Linked DNA regions of Homo sapiens: all the other regions are linked to region 1. The links are contacts of gene promoters, found by promoter capture Hi-C in blood cells and fetal thymus (Javierre and others, 2016). All regions are on one chromosome and are shown on one strand. The core of a region is centred on a gene start or on the middle of the fragment in contact, and the rest is flanking DNA. Distances in the headings are between cores, read along the strand shown.

Region 1 (4,262 bases), core at 688-3,187:
TCGATACTCCGAGAATACTTACAAAGATGAATTAAATACTTACTGAGTTTCTCTAGCTCAAGCCGCAAGCTTTGACACTCTCGGGTTTCATTCACAAGTCTCTCCTGACTGTGGGACAACCTCTTTTCTATTTCAAAATACTGTTGTTCTACAGCAGACAAGCAAAAAACAAAAAACAAAATCAAACACATGTACATACATTGTGAATACTGTTATTTATTTCTAATAACCTTGATTTTAAAACTTAAGATACAGTATTAGAATTGTGCTCCACATAAGAGAATCTGAGTAAAGATAAATAGACTGAGCACTGAAAAGGACTTAAAGCATTTCCAAACGACTTACATGACAAAAAATAAAAAATAAAAATAAGGCCTAAAAGGGGCTTTACAAATCAATGTCTTCAAGGCAGGTAACCTCATTTATCTTAGTATTTTCTCCAGACATCAGTAAACTGCTTAATAAATAAAGTATTTATTACACGAGAAAAAATTGTTTAGACAAAAAAAAACTCCTTTGTTTTAAAAGACTTCTTTTATAGTAGTCAAGATATTACCTGAAAGCATAAAACTACTAAATATATGTAAAAGTAAATGTGTAAACTTTCCAAGGGAAGGGATTGAATATCATGTTCAGCATAGTATCAGGAACATGTAAGACATTCAATATTTATGGTGCAAATTAATAAATAGAATGCAATGTACTATACTCAGCTCTGGGATCAGAGAACTAATTTTCAAGGTCAATTCTGCTTGACAGTTACACTTTTTTTGAAGTAAAAACTTGTTCAGAATTTCCAGTCAACTTAGCAAGAACAGTATGAACCTCCCCAAACAAATGGTAAACCAAAACACATTAACGGGAAGTTTGTATTTTACTAATGGTAATGACTATATTCTTCATATTTTTTTCAAGGATGTTCAAGCCATTATTGTCAGTAACTTTCTTACTTAAAGGCCTACTTTAGGTAATTACAAGAAAATTTTAATGTTTTCTATCAAACTCCAACTTTTTAAGAGAAATCAAGATATATTAAATTTATGTACTGCACATTCACTGTGTTTCCAGCGCTCTTATGCACCTAATATTCATTTTTGTAAACATCTGATTCGTTCTGGAGCCACGGGACGACGCACACACTAAGAACAAGTGCACAGAGTGGTCAATTTGGCAAAGGCCTAGAATGCAGGTGCCTAGAAAATAGGGCGGAGCCACTATCAGTTGAAGTGCAACAAAACATATAAGGTACTCTAGGCTTAGAGAGATGGGTTCGCAGACTCTATCAAGTCTGTTTCCCGTCTGCCGGACGAAGGAAAATAAGCGTCCCTGTATGAGCCTACCCTAACTACAAAGAAAATGCTACTGAACTTAGATTCAGATTTTTTTTTCAAAGGCTTCTTATCAAACTGTAAGGAGCAGGAAAGCGAAGGCTCAGGATATCCACAGAGCCCAGGAAGTGAGGTTAACAGAGCGGTACCCAGTGCCAACTTGATGGGGGAAGACCAGACCCAAAGGGCGGGAGTCGAGCCCAAAACCAAGGACGGAAAGAGCATCTCACTTACCGCTCTCCACCTTAAATTTCTCATGCCGCCCCTTCAGGCCATCGATCTCGGATTGCTGATCAGCAAGGAACTTTTCAAGTTTGTTCTGGACAGACTTGGGCAGCTTGTTCAGCTCCGTGCGCTCCAGGACTTGCTGCAACACCGCCGCCATGTCGGTGGGGCCAGGGACCCCAGTGGCAGCGGCCGACGGGGTAGAAGCGGAGAAGAAAGGCGAAGACCAGCAGGACCCAGACGCCTGGGCCGCCGCCTCTATCACCTCGCTCGGTGGCTCGCGCGCGCCCGCCCGCCGGAGACTCCCGCGGCGGGACCCTGGGAAATCGAGTCCACCCTCAGCGGCAGCGTTTCAGCAACAGCACCTCACCGCCCGCGACCGAAGTGCGCGCGCAGCCGTTGGAAGCTACGAACCCTGGGAACCCGAGCTCAGAGGCTATCCCTGATCCTCTTGCGCACCCAATTTTCCGGCTTCCAGCTCCACCCACTTCAGGCCTTGTAGGGCTCTGGGAAATGTAGTGTTTTTCTCATTCTTTTCCGGGAGCCCAATGCTGCACCGCCCTCTCAGCTTCCGTTTTTCTCCCCGCTCCCCTGGCTCTCCTATCTCGGCCCCGTAACCGCTGTCCGCACGGTGGCGCCACATACGTACTCGTCACCCCTTGGCCCTCCCTGAAGAGCTGGTGACCTTACCGTCAAAGCCCCGGGATGCCATGGATCGTCCTCGTTGGCGGCTTCTGGACACTGAGCCACTAGAGGGCATCGGTCCCGGTAGGGCCGGACGGCAGGCTCCGGGATACCGCCACGCTCTCTATGGCGCCCAGAAGGGGGCGGGGTGGCGACCGCAGTCGCTTTGGCTGAGGCTCTGCGGGGAAGGGAGGGGGGGCTTTTACGTCATCAATCTGCGCCACCTGACTCCCAAGTCCCTGGCTTTGGAGTGGGAAGTGAGGTGTGGGAAGTAGGTCGCTTTCTGATGAATTCAGTGGCAGTGAATTGAGACCGGAGGGAATCTGGCCCCTAGAGGCTGGTACTTGGGCCCGAAACCCCCATCTCCGGCGGAGAGACCGTCCGAGGTAATTGTCTGCCACGAGTGCACATTCTGAAAACAGGTAAGTCAGCCTAAGTGTAGTGTGTGTGTGTGTGTGTGTGTGTGTGTGCTCTCTTTTCAAGAGAAAAAGGAAGGGACAGTGTTGGAACCATATGGACAGTCACTCCGGCACACACTTCTGACGAACTTACCTTGTGTGAAACGGCGTACCTAAATGGTTTTTGGTGGTGGGGAGGTGGCACTGAGTGATTCAGTACCCGGGAATTTAAGGACCCGGGTTAATTCTTCAGGAGGAGAATTAAAAGAAACCGGTAGCACTTTGAGTGTAGCCTATGTTTTAAATTTTTCGTTGCAGAAACGGTTACCTAACATTATATTGTTTTTAAAATTGAAAACTGTTGTAACTGAAGTTTTTAAACACATTGTTAATTTCTACAGTAACAGAACTTGTATGGTTCCAGATCATAATTCTGTAGTTTTAAAGCTCAATCCGTAGATTGTTTCGTGTTTACTCTTATGAAAGAATTTGTTAAATTATTCATTGTAAATAATGCATTCCCAGTGTCGTCTCTCTGCAGTTCCCACAGTCGTGGGCCTTCTGTGAATTGGTGATTTAGTTCTTATATGAAATTTATTCTTTTTCTCTAGTTCTTACTTTTGAATCATGTTGTGAAGCCGTCTAAGAAATATAAATGGAAGCATTTTATGATATTTTGTAATAACTAAGGAAAAATAAATCAACAGCGGAGCTTAAGGTTGATTTTTCCCCAAAAATATTTTTTAGATAAGCATTGTAATTAAAGTTGCTGGTATATGAAGTATTATGCTATGTCCTAAGCCCACAGTATTATCATACTGTTGATCTGTCATTTGGGAAATGTAGATTTTTCTGTACTTAGATTCACAGAATCCTAAAATTAGATAGGTTTTCAGATCTGCTAGGATTCAAATGCTTTATTTTATAGATTAGGAAACCAGAGCCCAGAAAGGTTGAGTTGTGTCAGTCACAGTGCTTGGACCACAAAGGCTTTGGCTGATATACAACATTTCTGGAAAATTATGACCCTATAAGGCAAAATACAGTTGTCCCTTGGTATCCGTGGGGCATTGGTTCCAGGACCCTCTCACCTGCCCACCCCATGGATATGAAATCCATGGATGCTCCAGTTCCTTATATTAAATGGTGTAGCATTTGCATATCTTAAATCATCTCTAAGTTACTTATAATACCTAATACAATGTAAATGCTATAGTTGTTATATTATATTGTTTAGGGAATAGTGACAAGAAAAAACATCTTTAATGATACAGATGTAATCATGCTTTAAAAAAATAATTTTTCAATCTGTGGTTGGTTGAATACATGGAAGTGGAAACCACAGATGTGGAAAGCTGACTATATACATTTTTAGTACTGCCTTTTATAAAGTATGGTTGACTACATTTAAAAATTTTGAAAGAGCACTAAAGAAAAATTTATCTGACATTCAATCAGATTTCATAATTGAATAGATTTTCATCTCCCTATTACATTCAGTTTCTTACACATTAATATGGCTACTAGGTGACACCCTAGAAGAAATAAGGTTAAAAGGTTAAATATAACTTTAGAATTACTTGTATTTGTTGCAAGAATTAAGAATTATTAGACCAGAAGGAAAAGG
Region 2 (4,262 bases), core at 1,296-3,795, 7.3 Mb before region 1:
TATGTCTTTAAAAATCCTTGCAGTTTGGGAACAAGGAAGAAGGGCAAAGAGGAGATTAGACAACGACATGTAGAACCATACATCGTATGAGTGGTAAAAGGAGCATCACAAGAGTCTTGACAAAGTGCTCAGACCTCCTTAATTGGGGTTCCTGCCAGCTTCTCAAGAATGGGAACCAGGCTTTCTTCATCTCTGCATGGTCTGGTAGCTCAGTGCCTGGCACTTGGTAGACATTCATTAAATGAATGAATGTATGCATCAGTGAATGAATGAATAAACAAACAAATGAACAATTCTCCTGTCACGCAGGATCTGCTGAAGATGGCGGCTGTAAGTTCACAGAGCACTGCCTAACTTTGGTTCATATTGTTCCTCTCTTCTCCTACCTGTATTTTGCTCACCTCAATACCAGCCCACACTGTTTTCCTGGACTGTGATTCTTTCAGTGATCACAGAGTCTGTGCTGCATAATTTAAGTGTCCCTATTCCTTGCAGCTGCTTCCTGTGTGCTAGTCATGTAAACGCCCTTCTTAAATGATTGCATCCCTCACAATACTTAGAATATATTGACTGTTGATTGGTTGGAAAATAATCCCGTACAGGCGGAGGGGGCAGAAACTGACATCATGGAGTGTCAGGCACGGTGCTGGTGCTATGCATACACTCAACAAGGGCCTGGGTAATGCAACATGGAGAAGGGAAAACTGGGGGGCAGAACAATTTTGTCGTCTGAAAGCCTTTCACAGAGAGGCCCTGAACCCATAGCTCTCCTTCTCTGAGGACAGAAAAGGAGGAAGTGTGTCTGTCCTGCAGTATGTGGGATGGATAGATGGATGCGAAATTAAGCACTGAAGTGGGTTGCTTGGAGAGGCAATGACTGCCCCCTGCCCTCACCTGAAAATCCTTAAAGACAGAAGGGATCATCCGCCCAGGAAGCTGAGGCTGCAGGATAAGCTGGCCTTTTCCTGAACAGTGACAGTTGGAGCGTTCACCCTCACTGTCCTTGTCAGAGTTACAGGCAAGAAAGGAGAATCCTTTTGGATAAAGTGTCTTAAAGGAACTGTTGATTTACCCTTTTGCTTTATGGTCTCCTGATGTAGTGAGCAAGGTTCAGGGAGATTAGCTAACTGCAGGCAGACTGATCTTCCTGTGCAGAGAAATAAGGTAGATTCTCATTATCTTCCAGCTCATTTTCCCAAGAATTATGTATTCTCCGGCCAGAAAACGACCTCCAAACCTCCAAACCTTTTCAACTACACGCAGCAAAAAGCTAATACAATGCCTTCTGCATTTGACTGTACGTCTCCTGCAGTGATTAATGCTGCCTCCCTAACTACATTGTCCGGAGCAAGTGTCAAGCCCAATTATTTCTCTAGGATCTCCTGATAGTAAATGCTCAGCAAATATACAGACGAATAACACCTAATCATACACAATAATCTTAGAGTACTTTCCCCATACATTTCCTAACTTAATCCTTACAACAACCCTGTGAAGTTATTAACTCCCATTTTCCAGTTAAGGAAACTGATGCTCAGCAAAGTTAACTGGCACATCCAGTATCATACAGCCAGTAAGAAAGAATTCTGTTCAGTACGCCTTACTGATTAAATGAACTATGTGGCCTGAAGAAAAAGTGTCAGCTCAGTCTTTCCCCATCACGCATCTTATTCCATGGAGTAACCTGCATTATATTTCAGGGTCAGGCACACTAAGTTTGCGCTTTAGTATATGGTGAATAAATGGATGGACACAGTGGCGGCTCTGTATAAGTCAGCTGAAAGCAAACAAAGGGAAGGCAGAATCTTTCATTCACACGATTTATCCGCGCCCACTGGGTGCACTACGGTCGGGCATTGGCGACCCAGGAGCGACTGACCTGCCCTCATGGGGCTTACGGTCCTTAGCAAAAAACAGATGTAAAACAACTAATATTACAGTAAATGAATCATAATTTTGTGAGATGCTCCTGAAAGTATGTAGCAGGACGCTCCGCTCTGGTCCGAATGAAGAGCCATTTGCACTCAGTGTGGAAAGGCTAGCCTTTTTCTGGGCAAAAGAAGCGGGGGATACATTTAGATAGGCAGAAGTTCCGAGCAGAAGTCAAGGCAAATTAAAAAGGCAACAGGAGGAGGGAAAATGCTTCTCACAAACAGAACTCGACCTAGGGGACCGCAACTCTCCAGTCCTGCTGCTTGGCTGCCTACCTACCTAAGAAAAGCAGGAAAGAAAAAGAGAAGACGGGGTGGGGGATGGAGGACAAATACAGAAAAAGAAAAAAGAGCGAAGGAAGTGAGAAGTGAGAGGCCAGTTTATGTAAGCGGGCAGGGCGGCGCGGCCGGCAGGAGACCGGCGCCGGCGCCGAGGGAGTTAAGCGGACGGGCCCGGTATGGAAGAGGTTAAGGGGGGCAGTCCGGAGCGGGTCCGGTAGGGGCCGCCTACTGGGCGGGGGCGGGGCCGCGCCGAGCGAGCGCTGGGATTGGCCGTCGGGCAGGCGCTACGCTAGGACGGTACCAACAGCCGGGGGCCTCGGAGGCGGGGGGGTGGGTGTGGGACTGCCGCTCTGCGCGGCGAGAGGTGGCCTGGGAATGGCCGGGCCGGGGGTGGGCCGGAGCCGCTGTGGCGGCGGCGGCGGCTGGGGGCGGTGAGCGCGGCGTGGGGCTGCCCCTCCCCGGAGGCGGCGGGGGCGGCCGGGGCCGCGCCGCACCGCACCGCGCGGGCGGCCATGGAGCGAGCCTAGGGCCCGACAGGTGAGTGGCGCGGGGGCGGGGGAGGGCGCGCGACCCCCGCCCCCGGCGCGGCGGGCGGGAAAATGCGGACCGGCACGCGGGCGGGGCACGGTACGTAGCGCGCGCCGGGCTGGGGCCGCCTGGGGGCGGGGCGCCTCCCTGAGGGGCCGGGCACCGGGTGCCCTGAGCCGTCCCCGAGTGGCTGCGGGCGGGTCCCGGGCGAGGGCCCGAGGCTTCCTGGGAGACCCGCTCGGGCCGCGTGTCCCTGTGTGCGGTCGCGGCTGAAGGGACGCGGCCTCGGCCGCCACGTCCCTGGCCCACCTGAGGCGCGGGCCCACCTGGGGCCGCCTCAGGCTGCCAGAGGTCCTTCTAGTGACCGTCTCTCGTCCCCTTGCGCGGTCCCCAGAGGCGATTGGCCCCGGTGCCTCTCTTGTGTTCCCCGGAGCGCCCGTTGAGGCAGCCCAGGGAGCGCGCCCTCGCGGGGTCTTTGCTGGGCCCGCCTCGTGGCCGGGAAGCGCGAGTGACCTGCAGGCCGGAGGCGGAAGGCGGGGCAACCGTGCCCGGGGCCCGCGGTCTCCTGGGGTCCTGCGCCGGGCGCTCGCAGAAGGGCACAACTTAACGAATGCTGTGTTAGCCCTCAGTGGGCTGCGCTTGAGATTTCATTTCCGGGTGTGACGGCCCCGCGATTAAGAGCGGACCGATACGTTTCCCTTAATGATGAATGTGAATAGTTGTCGAGCTGCGTCCTTGATTGTGGGTTCTGATAAGAGATTCATTCTAATCTGACTTCTGTTAACCTGCCAGTCTCCGGATAAGAAGAGAAGGGGTAGAAGGATGGATTGGAGGGAAAGTAGGGGTAACAGGGCTTGGTTAGTCTTAATGGAATTATTAGTCCTTTTAAAGACCATACCATCATTGGGATGGATAAGGAGTTTCTAATTTGGGAAAATGAGAGTTGCTTGCTATTGCGACTTGGGTCTAGTGCCAGATATCAGCATCTTCCCCACCCAGCCAGCTTCCCTCTGGAGGTTTGATTTCTCACTTGGAAGGGAAGTAGGAATGTGGGGTTTTTTTTAGCCTTTAGCCTTTAAACTGTAGGACTTTATAAATCTATAATCTGGTACAAATTACTATTGCCATTTATTAGCCACGCCTATGTTTTTTGCGTTGTAAATTCTTGCAAAAATTTCACTGGCGTTGATTTCTAAAAATCTGGTTAGAGATCTCAGTGTTCTTATGTATTACAAACATTCCTTGAGTTTATGCAGGATCTTTGAGCTAAGCTTAGAGCACTTCCTCAAATATGATTCGTTATCACGACTGTCTGAGAAACTGAGGTACAAATGGTAAAGATGCTAAATTATTTGCCCAGACTCATAGCCAATCTCAGGGAGATTTAAAATCAATGTATTCTATTAATAACTTTTCTAAAGTTTGCAAAGATGTTGGACTTTGGCCTCTCGAACCGTACAATGGAATCAGTCAGCAGGAGTCCCTTTCCCATTTGAAATTACTTATCAAAGGAGAATACAA
Region 3 (4,262 bases), core at 1,231-3,730, 7.0 Mb before region 1:
ATCTCATCCTGTGACTTAGAATGCCTTAACCATCTGGGAACGCAGCCAAGTAGGTTTCAGCCTTATTTTACCCAGTGCCTATTCAAGATGGAGTTGCTATGGTTCAAACTCCTCTGACATTATGTATGATCACCATACCACAGCACAAGACAGAAAAGAGACCTTTGATGTCTCACAGATCTAATCACTTCCTAAATCCTTTAGATTATACTTTATGTGTTTTTCTAGAATGTGTTCACTTATTTCTATCTGCTTTCTTAATACTGTACTTGGATTTTTTTGAACTAGGTTAAGAATACAAAAGATGGATAATTTTGTGTGCTCTATAATGCTATTATGTGTATTTTAATTCTTTGAAAAATTAGGGTAATGGGAGATAAGGCTAAAGGCTAAAATGCTAACACACCCAACATGTTTGATCGGAAGAGTTCAAAGGGACCATGTAGACTTGTTTTGAACCCTTTGCTCGAATTTCTCACAGCTATTACACTCAAAACCAGAAAATAGCCGTAATTCTGTCAACACAGAAGAGAACTGTCCAACTGATTTTCATGTTTGTCCAGGCACTCTACTTGGTGCTAAGGAATATGGTGATTGAATAAGATAAAGTTTCCTCCCTGTCTGGAAGCAACTAGACGCTGGGCTTCTCCCAGCGATTCATTATTTGGCACTAAATCTCTGCCTTAATATGAAACGATCCGGCTCATGCCTGTAATCCCGGCACTTTGGGAGGCCGCGGCGGGTGGATCACCTGAGGTCGGGAGTTCGAGACCAGCCTGACCAACATGGAGAAACCCCGTCTCTACTAAAAACACAAATTTAGCTGGGCGTGGTGGCGCATGCCTGTAATCCCAGCTACTAGGGAGGCTGAGGCAGGAGAATCGCTTGAACCTGGGAGGCGGAGGTTGCGGTGAGCCGAGATCGAGCCATTGCACTCCAGCCTGGGCAACAAGAGTGAAACTCCGTCTCAAAAAAGAAAAGAAAAGAAATGATCCCTCACCGAACCGAGCCTCAGTTCAGTGCGAAGGCTCTGATGATACTCTTTTTTTTTTTGAGACGGAGTCTCGTTCTGTTGCCCAGGCTGGAGTGCGGTGGCGCCATCTCGGCTCACCGCAACCCTTTCCTCCCCGGTTCAAGCGAATCTCCTGCTTCAACCTCCTGAGTAGCTGGGATTACAGGCGCGCGCCACCTCTCTTGGCTAATTTTTGTGTTTTTAGTAGAGACGGGGTTTCACCATGTTGGTCAGGCTGGTCTCGAACTCCTGACCTCGTGATCCACCCGCCTCGGCCTAAGAAAGTGCTGGGATTACAGGCGTGAGCCACCGGCCGCTGATGGTATTCTTTCCTGAGGGCAGATTTTCACGCCAGAAGCCCCGACAATTATACCTGAGCTGGTTCCACCTAAGCTCAATCCTCCTTCCCTGCCCCAAGGGGGTGAAAAATCTGGGCCCAGGAGGCCTTCCTTGTGCTCTGGGGGGAGGCATTTAAGGGTCCAAGGAAGACGTGACCGAAATGTAAAGCACTGGACGGCTTACCCAATAAGGGACCCAGCGTTTCTTATTACCCAACATCCCCCTGAGTCTGGCTTTTAGAAAAATATGCAAAGCGTCCGGGCGCAGTGGCTCACGCCTATGATCCCAGCACTTTGGAAGGCCGAGGCGGGCGCGGTCAGGAGTTTGAGACCAGCCTGGCCAATATGGTGAAACCCCGTCTCTACTAAAAATACAAAAATTAGCCGGGCATGGTGGCCCCCGCCTGTAGTCCCTCGGGAGGCTGAGGCAGGAGAATCGCTTGAACCTGGGAGGCGGAGGTGGCAGTGAGCTGAGATCGCACCATTGCACTCCAGCCAGCGCGACAGAACGAGACTCCGTCTCAAACAAAACAAAACAAAAAACAAACTACAAAATTAGCCGGGCATGGTGGCGTCTGCCTGTAGTCCCAGCTGCTTGGGAGGCTGAGGCAGGAGAATTGCTTGAACCCAGGAGGTGGAGGTTGCAGTGAGCCGAGATCGCACCATTAAACTCCAGCCTGGGCGACAAGAGGGAAATTCCGTCTCAGGGGAAAAAAAGAGAAAGAAAGAAAAAGAGGAAGAAAGAGAAAGAAAAATATGCAAAGCAACAAAAAAGAGAGCTAGAAAGATGGAAACAACTCAGAAGACCCTTGCTTAACCCGCGTGCGTCACGGGCTACAGGGGTCGGCCCCTCGAGCTAACCCCCACCGGCGCCTGCGCACTGGCCTGGCCCGCGGCAGGAAGCCCCGGCGTGAGACACTTTCGGATTCCGTGACAACGGCGGGATTAAACGTTTTTCTTCTCCTTTGCTACTGAACCTATGCTGTGACTTAGAACATAAGAAACTCCAAGAGGGTGTAGGGATTGTCTTAGCTGTCTCCCTCCTCCGCCGGCACCGCTGAAGGCAGCCCCTATGGAGGGCGCTAAACCTCGGGGCCCTGGGTTTCTATGACGACAAACAGGCGTTCCAGCAAAGGAGGAAGTGAGCGGATGCTGGGCGGGTACGCAATGTGTGGGTAGGATCGCGGGTGTCCCTTTCCCGTCATTTTAAACCAAGAAGCAGTGCGAGGCCTGCCCAACTCGCGAGTTTGTGGAACTGGCGCGCGAGAGCGCTGCCTGTGGGGAAGGTATGGTCCCCAGCCGAGCCGCCTGCAGCGAGTGTCCCCCACCAGGGGTGCCGGCGGTCTGCGGGGTCCGCCGAGCGGGTCCTTCCTGCCCTGCTCCTTGACCCCGACCTGACGGTCCACTAAGGCTTCTTAGTCGCTACACATAACCCCAGAACATAGAGGTCGCCCCGAAGAAGGAGAACCATGCTAGATGAATTCTAAACTGCGATCTGAACCTAAGTACTCAATAGTTGTCATCTTTTTTTTTTTTTTTAAATCTTTTTTCCTCTGCCTGCAGGACTATGTGGCAGCCTGCAAGTCCCAGTGCGGCGCTGATTTGTGTCTAAATTAGCTTTCCGGAGGACTATTTCAAATTACTAAAGAGATAGGAGGCATTGTTTATTATGTCTCTCCCGAAAACGCCCTCCACCCCGCTAAACTCTACATCAACATCTGAGAGCAAAAAGTTAAAAGTGTCTGTAGCCAAGGAAGGGACAAGAGGTAAACTTCGTTGATTCTGAAGTCATAAACAGTCATGGCCGTAAGACAGAAATCACCTTCCATTCACCGGTTTTTTAAATCTGATATTCAGAATACCTTGATTGGCTACATTTTTCTAACACACTTGCTTAAATAAAGCAAGAAGTCATTCCTTTTACAGTATTTTGAGTCAGAGTACTGTTTCACTACTCCATCTAAATACAGTTTATACTTTTTTTCAAATGTTGATTTATATATGATTTTAAATTCAACCTATTTTAAATATCAATAGTTACGTATTTTTTGGTTCCTGGTCTTTGGCTTTAAGGAACTTTGGAAAAAGTAATAGTGAGGCAGGGCGCGGTGGCTCACGCCTGTAATCCCAGCACTTTGGGAGGCCGAGGTGGGCGGATCACTTGAGGTCAGGAGTTCGAGACCAGCCTGGCCAAATATGATGAAATCCCGTCTCTACTAGAAATACAAAAATTAGCCGGGCATGGTGGCTCGCGCCTGTAGTCCCAGCTTACTCTGGAGGCTGAGGCAAGAGAATCGCTTGAACCCAGGAGGTGAGGTTGCAGTGAGCCAGGATCGAGCCATTGCATTCCAGTCTGGGAGACAAGAGCAAGACCCCATCTCAAAATAAATAAATAAATAGGCCGGGCACAGTGGCTCACACCTGTAATCCCATTTGGGAGGCTGAGGCTGGCGGATCACGAGGTCAAGAGATTGAGACCATTCTGGCCAACATGGAGAAACTCTGTCTACTAAAAATACAAAAATTAGGGGGGGCGTGGTGGCTCGTGCCTGTAGTCCCAGCTACTCAGGAGGCTGAGGCAGGAGAATCGCTTGAACCCGGGAGGTGGAGGTTGCAGTGAGCCGAGATTGCGCCACTGCACTCCAGCCTGGCGACAGAACGAGACTCCGTCTCAAATCACGAGGTCAGGAGTTTGAGACCAGCCTGACCAACGTGGTGAAACCCGGTCTCTACTAAAAATACAAAATTTAGCCTGGTGTGGTGGCACTCGCCTGTAATCCCAGCTACTCGGCAGGCTGAGGCAGGAGAATCACTTGAACCCGGGAGGCAGAGGTTGCAGTGAGCCAAGATCTTGCCACTGCACTCTAGCCTGGGCAACAGAGGTAGACTTGGTCTCAAATAAGTAAATAAAG
Region 4 (4,262 bases), core at 1,128-3,627, 6.7 Mb after region 1:
GAGTAATATAAATAAATGCTTCATGAGACTTATGCTACCTGCCGAATTATCCCTAGTAGGTTCAAGTGCATTTCCAAAATACTTACCTAAGCAGACTTTGATTGATCTAAAACCTGGCAATTTGGTCCTTTGGAAAAGGAACCAGAATAAAACTGTCCTTGGGCACTGGTGGAAAGAACCTTATTGGGTACTGTTAGCAATTGAGGTAGTGGTTTAAACTCCAAGGTAATGATGTTGGATCCATCGTTTCCAACTAAAAAGACATACCACTTTCTTCTGATTGCTGGGCATTTACTCTAACAGAAGACATAAAACTAAAGATTTTTTAGGAATTCTTCAGGAGCTAATATCTGGAGATGTGGACTGCTTTTGCCCAAGACAAAGAAACCAGACTATTTTTCTGTTTTTTTCTAATTAATTTTCTAATTTTTCAGCTCTACCACTAATCTTGCCTTTTATTGTATTTTGACATCCTCCAATGAACCAGTATTGGTAGGGCAATTATAAGGGTACTTAGATAAAAACAAAAATGATCTACAATTGCTTCTGTAGACACAGGGTCTAGGTATGTTGCCCAGGCTGGTCAGGAAAAAAATGATCTACAAATTTCAATGCTTTAACTGTTAAAAGCAACAACTTACTAATGACTTATCTTACCACTTTTTAAAATTCATTAACCTAAAAAACATAATTTCTCTGAAAAGAGAGACTTTAATCATTATTTGAGTATGAAATAAAATTAAGTATCGTTTGAAGGGACTATAGTCGAGCCTCCTAATCATGAAATCTTGGCTTCCTTGAGCTTATCTTTCCATTCATTACTTCAACATTTATTAGAAGCCTCTATCCATGTATTAACTCGATATTTACTAGGAGCTTCCATCAATTTATTGAATTCATCCATTTATTACTAATATGTACCAAATAATGTTAGACAGTAGGATATGAGGACACAGATCTATGGTGTTTCAGTTTTGTGGATGCAGGCAAATAAACTATAAAGGGAAGTAATATGGTACTGAGTGCTCTGACACAGGTATGAATAGAGAATGTGGGGATAGGTAATTGTAGCCATTTCTTTATAATGTGTGTGCTTGGGGTGAGATTCAGGAGAATACTACGGGGTGAAAACATTGGTGGAACAGAAAAAAATTTCACAAACTAACAGTTGCAGAATGGCTACAGATCATATCGGAAATGAACCACACACTTCTGTATCTGTAGTCCTCTGCGTTGTGAAAAGATTGACTTTTTTCAAAACAGGTCAAGGAATTTGGTTATGTCAAACACAAAGTTGCCTCTTTTTTCCTTCTGACATGGTAAAAGAAAAAAAACAATCCCATAGGATGTGTTTGGTTGGCCATAGTATATTGAACTTATCTTAACCGTCTCAAAACGCATGTCAAGGACACCACTGAGACTTCTGAGTACCATTTAAAAAATTGGGTAGTCTGGAAGTGTTCTAAATTGGACCGTTTGGGGTTTCTGTTAGGGCAACTTTCCCATTTACATCTTGGAACACAGCCTTTTGAATATAGCCCTTCGGGATTGGCGGGGAGAAGGGACCGCGATGGAAAAAGTCATCATCCAAAGAATGAAGAGGGAGGATCCAACATTTAGGATATTTTATTGACTTGCTAGGCGCGTTTACCTTATCTTCGTATTAACCCCATTTTCTTCATTAACCAATTGATGCTGTGAGAAGCTATGTAACTTGACGAGCAGTGCCCAGAACTGTTTTTTTTTTTTTCTGGACTCGGTCTTTTCCACTCAAAACCAACAAAAAACCAAAACTCGTTCTTTTCCACATCAAAAGCAAACAAAAAACCCCAACCCCAACCCCAAGAGCCCCACTCTTTCAAAAGGGCTTCTCCGGATCACTAAGTCCTAGAGGTCTTTGGCTAGGCCTGGGTCCGATCTAAATAGGAAGGTAATTCTAGTGTTCCGCAAATCCTTGCCGAATTCCATCCCGGCCAAAGCAGGGACCCGGGGGAGCCTCTGGTCGCACCCGAGACAGTTCGTTAAATACTCAGTGCACGTGCTGGGGATGGAAGTGCTGACCCACTGCTCAGGTACGCGCGCACCTGACGCCGCTTGGTGCGCGCCGCGGGGTACTGGGTACGTGCTCCGCGCGCGCGCGCCCGGCAAAGTTCCCCGTACGTGCGCCGTACGTGGGCGCGGTGCCCCAGCGCTCAGCGTTTCAGCGAGTGAGTGGGCTCCGTGCCCAGCTGAAGTCTGGGAGGGGCACTTTTCCAGGCGGTCGCGGCTCCCCCTGGCGGCGGATGTGCCTCGCTGGAGGGGCGCAGTCAGGCGTTCTCCGCGGGCAGCCGGCGGCGGGGCCTTGCCTTACAGCGCGGGGTCCTCGGCGGCCTGGGTGGCTACTGCCCCTGCTGCTGTCGTAGGCGAGGACGGCTGTTAGTGCTGCTGCTGTTGGTTCGTCGCGGCGGCGAAGGAGGAGGAGGAAGAGGGCGAGGCGACAAGAGAAGAAGGAGGCAGGCGCGGCGGCAGCGGCGGCGCCCCGAGCCGGCGGAGGCGAGGGGGGGGAAGATGGCGGACGTGCTTAGCGTCCTGCGACAGTACAACATCCAGAAGAAGGAGATTGTGGTGAAGGGAGACGAAGTGATCTTCGGGGAGTTCTCCTGGCCCAAGAATGTGAAGACCAACTATGTTGTTTGGGGGTAAGTCCGGCATGGCTGTGGCCCAGGGGTGGCAGGGCAGAGTTGGGCGCCCCCAGGCGACCTCTTTCTTAACCCCTCCCCCCGTTTCCCCTGGGGATGGGATAAAACGGGTGTTCGGGGAAAAGAAAGTTTCTCTCTAGAGCAGAAGTTGCACTTTTAGGGTAAGGAAAGAAGGGGCGGAGCTCTAGAGCAGTTCATCACTTAAAATTTTTGAGAAGCCCAAAGGAAAGGTACCGTGGGAGTTTCTGACTTTTACAGTTAATTTTTATCAGTAGGTATGTGTACCAGCGAAGTGTGGGACTGGTGCGCAAGGGATACCTGAACATAGGTGCACAAAGGAGCACACCGTCTGGTGCCGTAGACGCCTCTTTTTGTTCTTTATTTTTTTTTTCTCTTTTCCAGGCTGCTATGTAACTATCTCCGCTGGTCTTTGCAACTCCTGGTTTATTTCATCTCCTTTCATTGTTGGGGTGGGGGTGATTCCTGTAGAAGAGAAAAGGGAATCAACCCTGAAGTTAGGACCGGAAAGAAATTTGGTGAATTTGGAAGAGTCATAAAAGTCTGTGTTAGAGAGGTCTTCAGGAGTTGGTGAAATGAGTGAGCTTTACAGATCTAAGAAATAGATGGTGCGTGTGATTTTTCGGAAGTGTATTTTAAAGGGAAATGTTTGGGAATGTTGGTCCATGTGAAGTTTTATCAGTTTAAGTCATTCAGGAAAACTTCTAGAGACGGCTCTAACAGTCATTAGGGGCCTTTTTAATGATGTCACTGTCATTGGTGCATCGCTTCTAGAATTAGAACCTTGAGCTACAACTTCCCTACTCATTTTGTTTCTTTGAATGGAAGCTTTATGAAGAGTCGATGAAAAACTAGGGAAATTTAGTTTGTTGGTTGGTATTTATTTATTTATTTTTGAGAGGGAGTCTTGCTCTGTCGCCCAGGCTGGAGTGCAGTGGCGCGATCTTGGCTCACTGCAATCTTTGCCTCCTGGGTTCAAGTGATTCTCTTGCCTCAGCCTCCTGAGTAGCTGAGGTTGCAGGCCCCCGCCACCATGGCCGGCTAATTTATGTAGTTTAGTAGAGATGTGGTTTCACCGTGTTGGTCAGGCTGGTCTCGAACTCCTGACCTCAAATAATCTGCCCGCCTCCACTTCCCAAAGTGCTTGGATTACAGGCGTGAGCCACGGCGCCCTGCCTATTGGTTGGTTTTAAAATTTTTTTGTCTTATGATTTAATTAGCTTTATAAAATGTTGATCAAATGACATTCTGAGTTTCTGGTATTTTACCCTTTCGAATAATTTGCATAGGTAGAATTACATGTGGTTGGATTTTTAGTGAATTTTTTTTTTTTTAGACAATGGCTAAGGAGTACCTAGGGTGTGAAGTGGTTCAATCTGAGGATTAAAAAAATTCCTAAGACTCTGGTTTCTACCTCAAAGGAGGTTAACTTAGTCTGAATAGAGGAGATTAAACAGATAAGTTGATGTGAAATGCTTTCTATAAGTTGATGTGAAATGCTTTCTACAATAGCTTTTGAAGACAGCAGTCACTTCTAGTTGGGGTTATTTAGGAGAAGGTTCCATA
Region 5 (4,262 bases), core at 859-3,358, 6.7 Mb after region 1:
CAAGGTATAAGTGCTTAGTTAAGCCAGAAAAGGTATTAAATTTGTGGAGACAAGAACAGAAAAAGTGTTCCAACTGACAGCAATGTGTTATGCCAAAAAGCACTGGGCCTATGAGAAGATTCAGCAAGGGATTCCTTGAAATGAGCATTTTGTTATTAAAGTGATTGTTCTTTTATTATTGTTGTTAATCTCTTACTCTGCCTAATTTATAAATTAAACTTTATCATAGGCAAGTATGTATAGGAAAATAGCATGTATAGGGTTCAGTACTATCCGAGGTTTTAGGCATCCACCGAGGGTCTTGGAACGTGTCCACCACGGATAAGGGGGAACGATTATGATATCAGCTCACCTAGAGTGAGGAAGCTACAGCAAACATCAGTTTGTTCAGTTATAACAAAGAAGAGTAAGAGACAGGAATTAAACATTATAACATTATAACCTACCCAATGTTTACAATCTATTATTCCTTGCTTCCTAATAGTATTAGCAAGGAACACTTTAAAACAAAAAAAAAAGTCCTGTGCGCTTAACTCAGGAAGGAGTTAAGGGTAGCGAGCTAGGGAGACTGCAGCCAACCTGAGAGGAGGGTGAAGCTTTAAGATAAAAGAAAGTTGAGTTCCTGAAGCCTAAACCAGAAAAGGTTAGGCAGCACTGGCCTAGCCCTAAGGAAGAGCATTGGTGGAATAAATCAGCAAGCTGTATTTGGTTTATCAACTAAGAAAGCAAGTCCTTTCATCTCAGGTCCAGCACTTAAACTGTCATACCCAAACCATCTACTACAGCATTTACTACTGAAGGAGCTCCAATAGAACACAAGAGAATGTTTTCTTGGGTAGTGAGAGGAGGTAGGAGGTGCATTCTGAAATATTACCCAAATAAAAGTTTCTGGAAGACACCCTTTCCCTTCAATTTCTAGTTGACCTTGGTAAAAACTGTCGCGAACTATGAATAGAAACATGCACGGAGGAAGTAAGTGCACAATAAACATTTCATTTCAACACAGATGAAGCACCTAGTCATGCCACATTTATGGAGCGCCTACTGTGTGCTAAGTAGGCAAAGTGCTATATTGACCCCAGGGATACGCAGAAAAAAACACGGCGGGGCCTCAAAGAGCTGTCAAACACTTAACAGCCTGTGATTAGCCCTTCAGGAGGGGTCTCTAGCTTGGTCTGGAAAGTTAAACTTGAGATTCCTAGAATCTTGCAAAACTGATAGAAGCTCCCAGATCAAGTAGATAGCGAGACAGACTCTCCGGCCAAGTGCGCAGTGGCAGGCGCGGAAGTGCGAGCCGGCAGGACCGCCAGGCACCAGCCGCGCGGGCGTGGGCAGCACAGCCGCAGTTCCCTTCCACTGCAGGTCCCGAAGCCGCTGATATTCCAAACGAGGAAGTGTAAGGAAAGCACTATCCTCGGTCTAGCCGCAGGCGGCATCACCATCAGTCAGCCTCTATCCTAAAAGCTCTGGCCATTCAGCGGGAATCATCGCCTTCACTTCCTGCAGTAGGGTGGCTAAGTTTAGCAAACAAGAATGCAGGACGCCCGGTCAAATTAGAATTGTAACCAAACACCAGAAAACTGTTCCGTTTTTCCTATGTCCACTGCAGTATTTGGGACACACTTGGACTAAGAATCATTCGCTCTTTCAGAGAAATTCCAATTGATTGCGGCGTCTTGTATTTTATGTAGCAATTCACAGAGGGATGGCCTAAGTGAACATGAGTGAAGTATTTTCAACGCGAGAGTCACAGGCTCCTGAAGTCAGCACAGCCGCGGAGGGCACCCTTCCCTGCCCATCCCTCGAGCGCCTCTGCGTGTTATGACTCAGAGCCCACGCGCTAGTACGCCTCGCCCACCCGGCGCCGGGGCAAAGGGGCACCTCCGCCCACCGCTTTCTCCAGACCCCCGCAAGGCCTGCGCACCACGCCGCGGCACTCCTGCCCGCTGACCCCGTACCCAGAGGCCGCAGCTGCCGCAGCTCCCGCAGCTCCCGCCGCCCTGTCAAGCCAGCCTGCCGAGCCGCTCCTGCTCCAAACCAGCCGCGTCCCCGCCAGCGCCGCGCGGCGCCAAATCATGGTCAGAGCCCGGATCTGCAGCGAGCTCTACTGCCGGACACCGCGGATCCCGGGAGCCCGCCTCCTCCGGCCCGGCCCCCGCCTTGCCCCGCCCCGTCCCGCCCCTCCGGACTGCCCGCGCCGCCGCCGGTCACCTCCTCGCAGCTGAGCGCGTCCTCCCAGGGCTGCCCGAGCGCTGGATTCCAGCGAGTGCCACCCACGTGTAAACATCCTTTAGAGGGGAGAAGCGGCTCACTTGCTTATCTCGAGGGTTCATCCGAGCCCCGCCTCTGGATTCTTTTAGGTTTAGGGACGCTCATAAAGGCTCCCAGGCACTTGGAAGCAGTGCATGAGGATGGTGGCAGACATGCTGGGGAAACGGAGGAGAAAAAACATGACCATCCAAAACAGAATCAAAGTGGTGCCTCAGATGTTTCCAACTACCTGTTACACAAGTTTTTGTGTGGATGAAATAAGAGCCTAAATATATCCTCTTATAATTAGGCAATTGGTCGAGACCCAATGTAAATTATGGGGATATTGGGGTTTACATCCATAATTAAAAGAAAAAATCCGGTGTTGAAGGTTTACTCCAAAGAAGACAAAGATTATTTCCCACCACCTGCCAAAAAAAAAAAATTAGGAAACAAAACAAAAGAAATTAGCACAGAGATGTTTCACCATGGCTTTGGAAATGGGCGATTGCTGTTGACAGGATTATTTAAGCCACTCAGTGGTGGTAATAATAGCCTTTGTGCGTCACTATTTAAGGTTGGGGGTAAGCCTTTATTTACTGAGGACACTGAAATTCATCTTAAAGTCAAAGGTCAAATGGTACATCTAAAATTCTAAACAATTATTACAACAATCCAGAGCTTTTTTGATTCTTCATGTTCAACTAAGTGTAAAATTCATGTTACCAAAGTACAAAATAAGAACTTGTATTTCTGACAGTTCTTTTCCAACATTCAAATGGGCTATGTTTGATTACTTAATAAAAGGATGGAAGTTAGTTGCAAAAATAAATACCCCCAAAGGGTAGGAATTCATTCTTTTTAAAGACAAATTTGACTTTGAAAATTAAGGCATGTGGCCAGGCGCGATGGCCTGTCCTGTAATGTGGCCATTACAGGACTGCCCGCTGACCCCGTACCCAGAGGCCGCAGCTGCCGCAGCTCCCGCAGTGGCCAGTCCTGTAATCCCAGCACTTTAGGAAGCCGAGGCGGGCGGGTCACCTGAGGTTGGGGGTTCAAGACCAGCCCCTCCAATATTGGTGAAACGCCGTCTCTACTAAAAATACAAAATTAGCCGGGCGTGGTGGCGCATGCCCGTAATCCCAGCTACTCGGGAGGCTGAGGCAGGAGAATCGCTTGAATCCATGAGGCAGAGTTTGCAGTGAGCCAAGATCACACGATTGCACTCCAGCCTGGGCAACAAGAGCAAAACTCCGTCTCATAAAAAAATAAATAAATAAAATAAAATAAAAATTAAGGTATGTTATCTATCTATAGTGTTGTGGGCTTTTTAATTTTTTTATAAAACTATTTTGGAAATTTATGGTGTTATGTTAGTTTTGAAGTCAAATTTTACCTCATCTCAAATTGTTTTATGAAATAAAGATCATTATGAGGTGAACCGATCATGTTACAATTTAATTTTAATACAGCATAGATGGACTATTATCAAGCACAGAATTCACTGGACAGATTTTTTTAAGGATTTCAGAATGTAAAGTACTTCAGAAGAAAGTGTTATGCCTGAATTCAGCATAATATATTAATAAATATATTGATAATTTTCAACTTCTTTGTGCTTCGTGGGGTAGCTACAGAAGTGATTATTATTTTTGGTCATAGTTGTGATGACTGCAATAGCAAGTTAAGAAATATGTCAGCAGACAGTAGAACGGTGGTTGCCAGGGCCTGGGAGAAGGTGGAAATGGGGAGATGTTGGTCAAAGGGTACAGAGTTTCAATTATGCGAGATAGGTAAGTTCTAGAGAGCTAAAGTACAGCAATGTGACTATAGTTAGGAAAATCGCAATGTATGCTTGAAATTTGCTAAGAGGGTAGATCTTGTGTTCTCACACTTGCACACAAGAAAGAAAATGGGGCCAGGTGCGGTGGCTCACGCCTGTAATCCCAGCACTTTGGGAAGCTGAGATGGGTGGATCAACTGAGGTCAGGAGTTCAAGACCAGCCTGGCCA
Region 6 (4,262 bases), core at 449-2,948, 6.7 Mb after region 1:
GCATACAATCTGTCCTCAGTTTATCTTTTCAGTTTCAGATCCAAATAAATATTCCTCCAGTCTGCTATATTATGTTCTAGTCACTTTGCTAGCTGTTGGCTAACCCATATACTTTAACATCACTACTGTTTATGCTTTTCCTTCTGGCTGTGCTCCTCCATGACCTGTGTACTTTTAACATTTTGTATATACTCTAACATAGCAATTAACACACCATATTATAGTTTGACTGTCAATTATTCGAAACAGCAGTTATGGTTTATTCACATGAAAATTTCCCAATCCTTGGGTGGGCGCGTGGCTCACGCCTGTAATCCCAACACTTTGGGAGGCCGAGGCGGGTGGATCACGAGGTCAGGAGCTGAGACCAGCCTGGCCAGCATGGTGAAACCCTGTCTCTACTAAAAAAAAAAAAATTAGCCGGGCATGGTGGCGCGTGCCTGTAATCCCAGCTACTCGGGAGGCTGAAGTAGGAGATTCGCTTGACCCCGAGAGATGGAGGTTGCAGTGGGCCAAGATCGCGCCACTGCACTCCAGCCTGGGCGACAGAGCGAGACTCTGTCTCAAACAAAAAAAAGAAAATTTCCCAATCCTTACCACTGTGCCTGAGATATAGAAGATGAACAACATATGCTTGATAAATGACATTCCAAATATTAAGCTGTGTACAACAGGCAATATCTACATCAACGTTTAATTGTTAATCCCGCGTAAAAGTTTTAACATCGTAGAGTCAATAACACTTGGGAAATAGATAAAAACGTACTGTCCAAAGAAGAGACTAAGAACAAGATAAATAGGGAAGGATAAAAAGTAAAATGTGTTGATTATTTAGGACGAAAGGCACTAAATACAGCCAGAGAGAAACTGTGAGGAAAGCATGTGGCCTCTAGTCTAGAACACTAGCTCAAGAAAACTCACTTCACCGGAAGCCAGAAATGAGCAGAGAGCGGAACCAGTGAAGTGGCCTTTCAGGCCCACGCAGTCAGCGTGTGTGGACGTCCCGAAGAGCTATTCACACATTCAAGGCGTTCTGCTTTGAATAACCAGAATCTCGAGTTCCTGGGCGGCTTGAGCCGCAGACACCTCACCCTTGAGAAGGCGCACCCTAGGGTGGCTTCTGCAGGACTAATGGCCTGAGCAATGCACTTGACCTCACCAGCCCGGGATAAGGTGCGCGCCGCAGAGAAGGGGCAGTGCAAAGGGCAATACGTGCTTAAGAGCTTGGGGAGCGAGGGCCCTCAAGTCAATTACAGGATTTGGGTGCCAGGTCCTGAGGATGCAGCAGGCACAAGACTGACACGATCCTTGCCCTCGTGGTGTGGCTCTACAAATTACTGTGGAAACGCGACTGTCTCGAGCTGAGGAGAGGGCAGAACATCTACATTTCCCCCACCCGGACTCCAGGTTCCTGAAGTCACCTCTCCAGACGCGGGGCGGCGGTGGCCGCAGGGAACCACTCCATGCCCAGCTTGGGCCTCCTCCCGTGACCCCAGGCCCAGGACGGTCCCCTTGGTTCTCACCGAATCCTTTAATGAGCTCGGTGAAGACCCCGGGGTCGCTTTCCATGAGGCACCACTCCCCGGCATTGCCCGTCATGGCCCTGGCCACACACCGCCCCGATCCACCTCTCGCTCTCAGCTGCCCCCCGCACCAGCTGCCGCCGGCCACAGATCTCAGCAAACCCGCCGCCGAGCTCGTCAACCACACGTCACCCCGCCTACTTCCCGACAGCCTCCGGGCGCCGTCACCTGCAGCGCGACTGAGCGCGGGAGGACGCTCTAGCCACCCTAGAGACATCGAAACTCTTCCCAGGCCTTGCAGCACCCGTAGCGGATTCGGAAGGGCTGGGGCCTGAGAAGAAAGGGCGGTGATTCACAGCGCCGAGGAGGCAACATCCGGGATCCTCGCCCCTCTGGGGCGGAGGCGGGGCAAAAGAAGAGGGGCAGGACTCGTTCCCGGGAACCGAACCTGGAATCCCCGGCGGCAGTGGGGCTGTTGCTGTTGCTGTGGCTGTCGCTGCCCGTCAGGCTGCCTTCTTTTGTCGTTTCCCAGCGCTGCGCAGGACTTCTCCTGGCGGCGCTGCGGATCCAGGGGGTCGGCTGCCAGGTACAGGTGAGGACATTGCGGGAGGCCGGCTGGGAGCCTTTTGTGCGGCCCCAGGGACGCGCAAATTCTGACCAGTCCTCCATGTCTCTCACCCGCATCCCAGGGGTTGAGGCTGGGCAAACGCCGCGAAACTATCGCTCTTCCCCGTCCCGCTTCCGCGCCTGTCCACCCTGGGTAACGGAACCAGCATCGCGGTAGGGACATCCTCGCTAGGCCCGGCCGGACCATTCCTCAGGGTGGGCCCTTTCCGAAGCCGGGACCGCTCCTGCTTGTCGGCATCGCTCCCCACAGGCCGACGTCGAGAGGGCCTGCTTTACTCCTCCTCTTTCTCCTCCTTCTCCCGCGGCTTCTGCGCGGAGAGGCGTCGCCCGGGATCTGGGTTTTGGAAGAAGGATCTTTGTGGGAAGACAGGGTGAATTTATCACAGAGGAATAACGAGGGAGAGGAGAAAGGTTTGTCCATGGGGCTGCTAGACTAGTGGAAGGGGATGCGGTGCGTCAAGGGAAAATTAGGTTGAAAACAAATGTCGTGTATTAATCTAAAAACATTTGGAATGGTTCTAAAACTGGATGATGAGTTAAACCAAATATTTACTAAATATTTACTAAATTGCCCTCATTCAGCAGGCTCTTATAGAATACTATAGTGTTAAGATTAAAGTTTTTAAGAGTATATTGAAGTCGTTAAGTGTATATTTACTCCTTAAAAGCTACATATTCCAAGAAAGACCTTTGGCTTCCAGAAAAAAAAAATGTTTTAGTGGGTAAAACTCTGACTCCTTCCTTCTCAAATAGGTGACTTGTGCCCTGGAGTTAGGGAGCCTTGTGCTACAGATTATGTGAAGCCATGAAATAAACGTGGTAAATTTTATTGAGGGAAGCAACAGAGCAGCTTTTGTATTAAAAGGAGCCTGAGTACGCTATGGGGTAGAAGCCAAAATTTGTATGAAGTGTTGGTTTAAAAAAAATTTTTTTTGTAACTTTCTTGAAGTTTATCTCCGGAAACTCTGCCCTCAACTTGGAGACTAGGAGGATTCTGTACAGTATATTTCCTTGAGATACTTTATTGGAAAAGTTTAAGAGGCACAGAGTCCAGAATGATTGGCATCAGAGCCCAAAGTAGTTTGTGGTATTTTTTTTAATCTGTAATATTGCTATGAACTTGAAAATGTTTTCTGTGCAAAATACATCAAAACTAAAATGTACTTGATACCCAACTTAATTAACATGGTACCTATTGTAGAAAGACCAAACTGAAAATTTAGCCTTTGGCACAATCTAGAAGTAAGCAGAGAAGGGGGTTAAGATGCCTTTCATTATGTTAACGTTTAATCCTGAGAGTTTACATAAAAAGCCAGATTTCTGGGTCTTTGAGAAAAATGAGATCTGGCAACTACTAGTTCCATACCACGTGGCAACCAGTTGGCAGCTCCCCTCAGACTAGCATGCTGTCATTTTTGCCACAGTTCCTTCCTCATCAGTTTTTATAGCATCACATTGATCAGTGGATTCAGATACCTGTATCATGGGTAAACAAACCTCTATCATGGGCCCAATTTTCTATTGTTGTTTCTTTACATTTGTCATGCACTCTCATAGATATGTCAGCTTTGACTTCATTTAAAAAGGAATAATCTGCAAATGTGTTTGACTTCTTGAGATGAAAGGCAGCATTTTCAAATAAATTATAAAGAGACTTTGGAAGATATTGAGATGTGTAAATTCAAGAAAAATGTAGGATTCCTTGGAAATAACACATTAGTACTGATAAAAGATACTGTATATGCTGTAGTTCTGATGATTGTGAAACAAGTGCTATTATATAATGTGTGTTACTAGCATTTCCTGATTTTGCATTCTAAATTAAATTTAAAAGTAGAGAAATGGACATTGTATAAAATATCCACAACCAATTTAATATGCGGCCATGCTTGGCCGGGCACCGTGGCTCACGCCTGTAATCCCAGCACTTTGGGAGGCCCAGGCGGGTGGATCACGAGGTCAGGAGTTCAAGACCAGCCTGGCCAACATGGTGAAACCCCGTCTCTACTAAACATACAAAAAATTAGCCGGGTGCGGTGGCAGGCGCCTGTAATCCCAGCTACTCAGGAGGCTGAGGCAGGAGAATCGCTTGAACTCGGAGGGCGGAGGTTA
Region 7 (4,262 bases), core at 1,059-3,558, 6.5 Mb before region 1:
TAATTAAAACCCCAGAAGACACCAATGTTTCAAAATTTGACTTTTTCCAAAAATGTCATTACATTTACATGATAGATACTCATGGTCAAGGGCTGAAGGAAAATCTCTAAAAATCAAACAATTTGATTTGTTGAGGTAGTGGAGTTATAGGTGAATTTTCTTCCCAGAAATTTCGATTACCAAAATTATGTGCACAGTTCATACCAGAGCCATGGCACCAAAAAAAAAAAAATCATGTGCCAGCTCCTTTAAATATTAGTAAAGAGGAAAACAGCCCACACAGTAACAAAATAGGAATTCAAACCCAGCTATGACTCCAGTCTATGCTCATTACCAATGTTAGGGACACGCTTCCTTATTCCCAAGTGCTTGATTTCTGTGCAAAATTTATGGTAATATATGATCGCCCTATGAATTCCTTCTTGTAGGACACAGTTTAATCCAGTAGTTCATATGATGTAGAAATATTAATGAAATTTTAACACAATCAAAATTCTAAATGGTAAATAAAACAGCCAATTCTTCATTCTTTAAATTTTTTTGGAAGTTGTCGAATCTCCAAGTTTATGGGCCTTCACAGTTGACTTAGTGAACAACCTCAAAGTGATAAAGCAGACAAGGCTTTTTGAAGCAAACATTCCTTCAGGAAATTCAAGTGGCACTTCAAAGAAGTGTGGACTTTCCTGGAATAGAATTTTGACTTCTGTGTTCCATGGAAATGAATGGAATACAGAAATTACTTCTTAGGCAAAAATAAGTTATATACAAGATACAATACATTATTAAAACACCCAATAATCCTCAAATAATTAGCTACATTCTGAAGTTAATTTATTTATAAATTATTGAAGCTCTCAAGCTAGCATTACCTCTACATTAGGAAAGAAACTAGATAAAATAGTTCTTAAATGAGTCACGCAAGGTTGCGTAACAAACCAGCAGAAAAACAGGTAATCAAGTTGTGGACTGCACGTTCAGCATAATAAACATTACTGAAGACAGGCACTCAGTTTTCATAACAAATGTTAGTTTTTCAAACTATTCTAATCCACACAAAGTCTTCCAAAAACATCTGTAGTTACTCTACCATGAAGTTCCTTTTTTTATTAAATGTTTCCACTGGCCTTTTATATCCTCATCTTGTGCTCAAAAAAAAAAGCTCAAAAAACATGGATAACTGCCACAGCTTAAAACAAAGAAAGGATCTCTCATACAGATCCAAAATAAAATGTGTTAAAACCTAAAGACAGGTAAAACAAAGCCAGTATGTTTAATCTATGTAACTCATTTCTGGATCTGTGTAACAGTATAAAGTCTGATAATTAAGCATTACTCATAAAGTAGAGAGTACTATGAAATTTGTTAAAAGAAGGAAAAGGCACAAACTTTTTCATCAGGTATTAAATACAATTGGGAGAATGGTACATATATAATATGTAAGCAAAATGGTAGGAGGTCTTACTAAAACTTCAACTTTGCCCTTTTTAGCACCAATTTTTTTTTTTTTTAAGTATTATCTTTTCAGGATTAAGATTATGAATGTCGAGAACCTAGGCATGTTGGGAATGGAGTAATCGCCGCCTACACTAGTAGGCAAATTTCCCACTCACATTTCGAACCCTAAAATAATTCGGCTTCTCACCTTAAAGTCTAAACCCAAAAATTTACTCACATCTTAACCCATTTAATATTTATAAGATTCAGTTTCTTTTTATCCCAAAACAAAAATATACCCCCAACCTACCTCGTTTACTGTTTGAGTGAGGCCAGGCGTGGTGGCTCACGCCTGTAATCCCAGCACTTTGGGAGGCTGAGGTGGGAGAATCGCTTGAAGCCAGGAGTTCGAGACCAACCTGGGCAATACAGTGAGACCCTGTCGCTATAAAAATAAAAAATAAAGTAATTAGTAGGGCATGGTGGTGCGGGCCTGTAGTTCCAGCTACTTGGGAGGCTGAGGCGGGAGGATCCCTTGAGCCCAGAAGTATGAGGCTGTGGTGAGCTATGATCACGCCACTGTACTCTAGCCTCGGTGACAGGGCAAGTACCTGTCTCAAAAACAATAAAAATAAAAATACCATTTGTGCGGTACGAAGGTGGGGGTGGGGAGGGACCGTTTCTGAAAGTCCTTTTCAAAAATTCAAGATATCAGTTTCAATACTAAAACATGGAAAAGCTGCATAGTCATTTTGTTTACTTACAAATTCTGGCGAAGTTTTAAATCGTAAAACTGTTAGTATCAGGAGAGCCCTTCGAGTATTCTCTCCGCTCCACACCGCTCGGCTGCACCCAGCGGCCGCCGCGGCCCGAATGTCGTCCAGGGTCCCCGCCCATATGACAAACACTTTCCGCCGGAAGGCGCCCGTGGAATCCTGGGACTAGTAGTCTCCGTGCCCTGCCTTCTGCCTTCTCCATCCTTCACCCTCTACTGCCAGGTCGTCTGACCCAGCGACAGGCGCGGTAAATGCGCGACCAAACCGCAGAGGTCCCATGCAATCTCATGCTGACAGGATTACAGGCATCTCTGTAAGACGTCGACCACCCTGACCTGAAATTCATAGACTGAAGAAACTCATAGGACCAACACAGTGAGCAGCAGTACCAAATGATAATGGCAAGCACCATGTCCTGGAACACACCCTCTGTGCCATTAAGAGGAGCATGTAATCCAATGAGTTGCCTAATCTAAACCTCAGTTTGCTCGTGTGTCAAATGGGGACAACGTTACTTACCTCATAAGTTTGTTATTAGTAGATTAGATGACGTATGCAGCATTTCTGTTAAATGACAGTAGTGACAAAAAATAGCTGTTTTGATCTACTAATTTTATAAATGTGAAAATTAAGAGATGGCGAGCAATTTACCCAAGAACATACAATTTGTTGGGGGAAAAATGAAGTAAGTCTAAAATTCCTGTTCTTGACCTACAGCAATTCAGGACAAATCTAACCAAATTTCAAGAAGAAATCTATTCATGTAAAACTCCCTTCCCCTTTCCTCTTTTTTTTCCCATAACAGTCCTGACCAACACACTATTTTACTTATTTTGATTTTTGCCCGACTCCTCCCATAGAATATAATCTCCAAGAAGGCAGGAAACATTTTTTGTCTTTTAGTCTATTTTGTTCACTGCTGTATCCCCAGCACAGAGAACAGGGACTGCCTACTACACAGTAGCTCAAGTATTTATTGAATTAATAATTCCTCATTTAATGTGATTTTTGGTGCCTTCACTTCTCAATCACCCTCTCTTGGCAGAAGTGACAGGATTTGGTAACACTCTTGGATGGTGTTTAATAATTAACTGCAAGTCCTAATTCAACAAAAAGAATACTATATTCCATTCACTTTATTGTGTTTAATTAATTTCAGTATAACATTTCCAGGAATTTTCATTTGTATTGTCATTAAAATATTTTTCTATCATTTGTAAGACTGGGGAATAAATGGAGCCAGCTACTATGTCTTTAATTAACTTCCTCCTGTTTAATATTTTAATCATCTTTTCCTTATTAAAATTGTTTGCCTACTTCATTTGTACTACTAAGTCACAACGGATAGATTTATCTCTTTAAATAAATGAACTTCTGCTTACCCTAAAGCAAAAAGTTCCTGTACAAAAAATTTATTGTTCTAAAATGTTTCATTTAAAATAATTATTTTGGCCAGGCGTGGTGGCTCACACCTGTAATCCCAGCACTTTGGAAGGCCAAGGCGGATGGATCACCTGAGGTCAGGAGTTCAAGACCAGCCTTGCCAACATGGCAAAATCCATGTCTACTAAAAATACAAAAATTAGCTGGGCATGGTGGCAGGCACCTGTAATCCCAGCTACTCGGGAGGCTGAGGCAGGAGGATCACTTGAACCTGGAGTTGGGGGAGGCTGCAGTAAGCCGAGATTGCACCACTGCACTCCAGCCTAGGCGAAAGAGCGAGACTCCGTCTCTAAATAAATAAATTAATTAAAAATGAAATAAAATAACTGATTTAGGAACCCAGTCTCAAGAGCACAGGATTTCCAGACCTAGCCCTAATAGTTAAGTGTGTGAATTAATGCCATTTAATCTGAATTGTAATTTTTCGTGTTTCTGTCGTTCCCAATAAATGACAAATTCCCTAAAGATAGTCTTCCTCATTGCTGGCACACGTTTGATAAGTAAATGAATTATTAAGTGTATTCTTTGTTTTAATCATTTCTTTTCTTACCGGTCTTCTTTTTTGGGTCACTGAATTCCTCCAGATTTCTCAAATTCCCAAAGTAACTT

Evidence for each region. The method cuts DNA at HindIII sites, captures the fragments that hold promoters and counts their contacts. A CHiCAGO score of 5 or more calls a contact.
Region 2: a contact is called between the fragment with the promoter of FAM20B here and the fragment with the promoter of TPR in region 1, in 2 of 17 cell types (total CD4 T cells and activated CD4 T cells). The highest score is 7.0, in total CD4 T cells.
Region 3: the fragment with the promoter of AXDND1 here is called in contact with the fragment with the promoter of TPR in region 1 in 2 of 17 cell types (naive CD8 T cells and total CD8 T cells); the score reaches 8.5 in naive CD8 T cells.
Region 4: the fragment with the promoter of CDC73 here is called in contact with the fragment with the promoter of TPR in region 1 in 5 of 17 cell types (M2 macrophages, naive B cells, non-activated CD4 T cells and 2 more); the score reaches 14.7 in M2 macrophages.
Region 5: the fragment with the promoter of GLRX2 here is called in contact with the fragment with the promoter of TPR in region 1 in 1 of 17 cell types (M2 macrophages); the score reaches 14.3 in M2 macrophages.
Region 6: a contact is called between the fragment with the promoter of UCHL5 here and the fragment with the promoter of TPR in region 1, in 12 of 17 cell types (total B cells, naive B cells, M2 macrophages and 9 more). The highest score is 22.6, in total B cells.
Region 7: a contact is called between the fragment with the promoter of TOR1AIP2 here and the fragment with the promoter of TPR in region 1, in 7 of 17 cell types (total CD4 T cells, monocytes, naive CD4 T cells and 4 more). The highest score is 20.1, in total CD4 T cells.

Annotation. Positions count from the first base shown.
Region 1 is chr1:186,373,316-186,377,577 of GRCh38, forward strand. TPR (translocated promoter region, nuclear basket protein) reads right to left here and starts at 1,938. Exons shown (of 51, transcript NM_003292.3): 1 at 1,563-1,938; 2 at 44-148. The coding sequence starts at 1,713. It overlaps ODR4 (odr-4 GPCR localization factor homolog), which reads left to right and starts at 2,523. Exons shown (of 14, transcript NM_017847.6): 1 at 2,523-2,659. RefSeq lists a silencer at 1,073-1,122 and enhancers at 1,683-1,982, 2,143-2,192, 2,363-2,552. The HindIII fragment of the contact is 6,872 bases long and covers 68-4,262 here.
Region 2 is chr1:179,023,349-179,027,610 of GRCh38, forward strand. FAM20B (FAM20B glycosaminoglycan xylosylkinase) reads left to right here and starts at 2,546. Exons shown (of 8, transcript NM_014864.4): 1 at 2,546-2,750. RefSeq lists silencers at 2,363-2,552, 2,593-3,332. The HindIII fragment of the contact is 5,476 bases long and covers 1-4,010 here.
Region 3 is chr1:179,363,491-179,367,752 of GRCh38, forward strand. It overlaps AXDND1 (axonemal dynein light chain domain containing 1), which reads left to right and starts at 2,481. Exons shown (of 26, transcript NM_144696.6): 1 at 2,481-2,510; 2 at 2,914-3,116. The coding sequence starts at 3,020. RefSeq lists enhancers at 2,032-2,431, 2,812-2,881. The HindIII fragment of the contact is 9,843 bases long and covers 1-4,262 here.
Region 4 is chr1:193,119,654-193,123,915 of GRCh38, forward strand. It overlaps CDC73 (cell division cycle 73), which reads left to right and starts at 2,378. Exons shown (of 17, transcript NM_024529.5): 1 at 2,378-2,678. The coding sequence starts at 2,548. RefSeq lists enhancers at 1,875-2,521, 2,426-2,495, 2,522-3,166, 2,766-2,815 and a silencer at 2,186-2,265. The HindIII fragment of the contact is 13,310 bases long and covers 1-3,522 here.
Region 5 is chr1:193,103,306-193,107,567 of GRCh38, forward strand. GLRX2 (glutaredoxin 2) reads right to left here and starts at 2,109. Exons shown (of 4, transcript NM_197962.3): 1 at 1,959-2,109. The coding sequence starts at 2,077. RefSeq lists silencers at 1,898-1,997, 1,974-2,268, 2,048-2,287. The HindIII fragment of the contact is 5,966 bases long and covers 595-4,262 here.
Region 6 is chr1:193,057,662-193,061,923 of GRCh38, forward strand. UCHL5 (ubiquitin C-terminal hydrolase L5) reads right to left here and starts at 1,699. Exons shown (of 11, transcript NM_001199261.3): 1 at 1,524-1,699. The coding sequence starts at 1,599. It overlaps RO60 (Ro60, Y RNA binding protein), which reads left to right and starts at 1,951. Exons shown (of 9, transcript NM_001173524.2): 1 at 1,951-2,115. RefSeq lists enhancers at 1,051-1,360, 1,385-2,117, 1,521-2,050, 2,118-2,850. The HindIII fragment of the contact is 5,498 bases long and covers 1-4,262 here.
Region 7 is chr1:179,875,495-179,879,756 of GRCh38, forward strand. It overlaps TOR1AIP2 (torsin 1A interacting protein 2), which reads right to left and starts at 2,309. Exons shown (of 7, transcript NM_001199260.2): 1 at 2,199-2,309; 2 at 1,745-1,879. RefSeq lists an enhancer at 2,284-2,643. The HindIII fragment of the contact is 9,006 bases long and covers 1-4,262 here.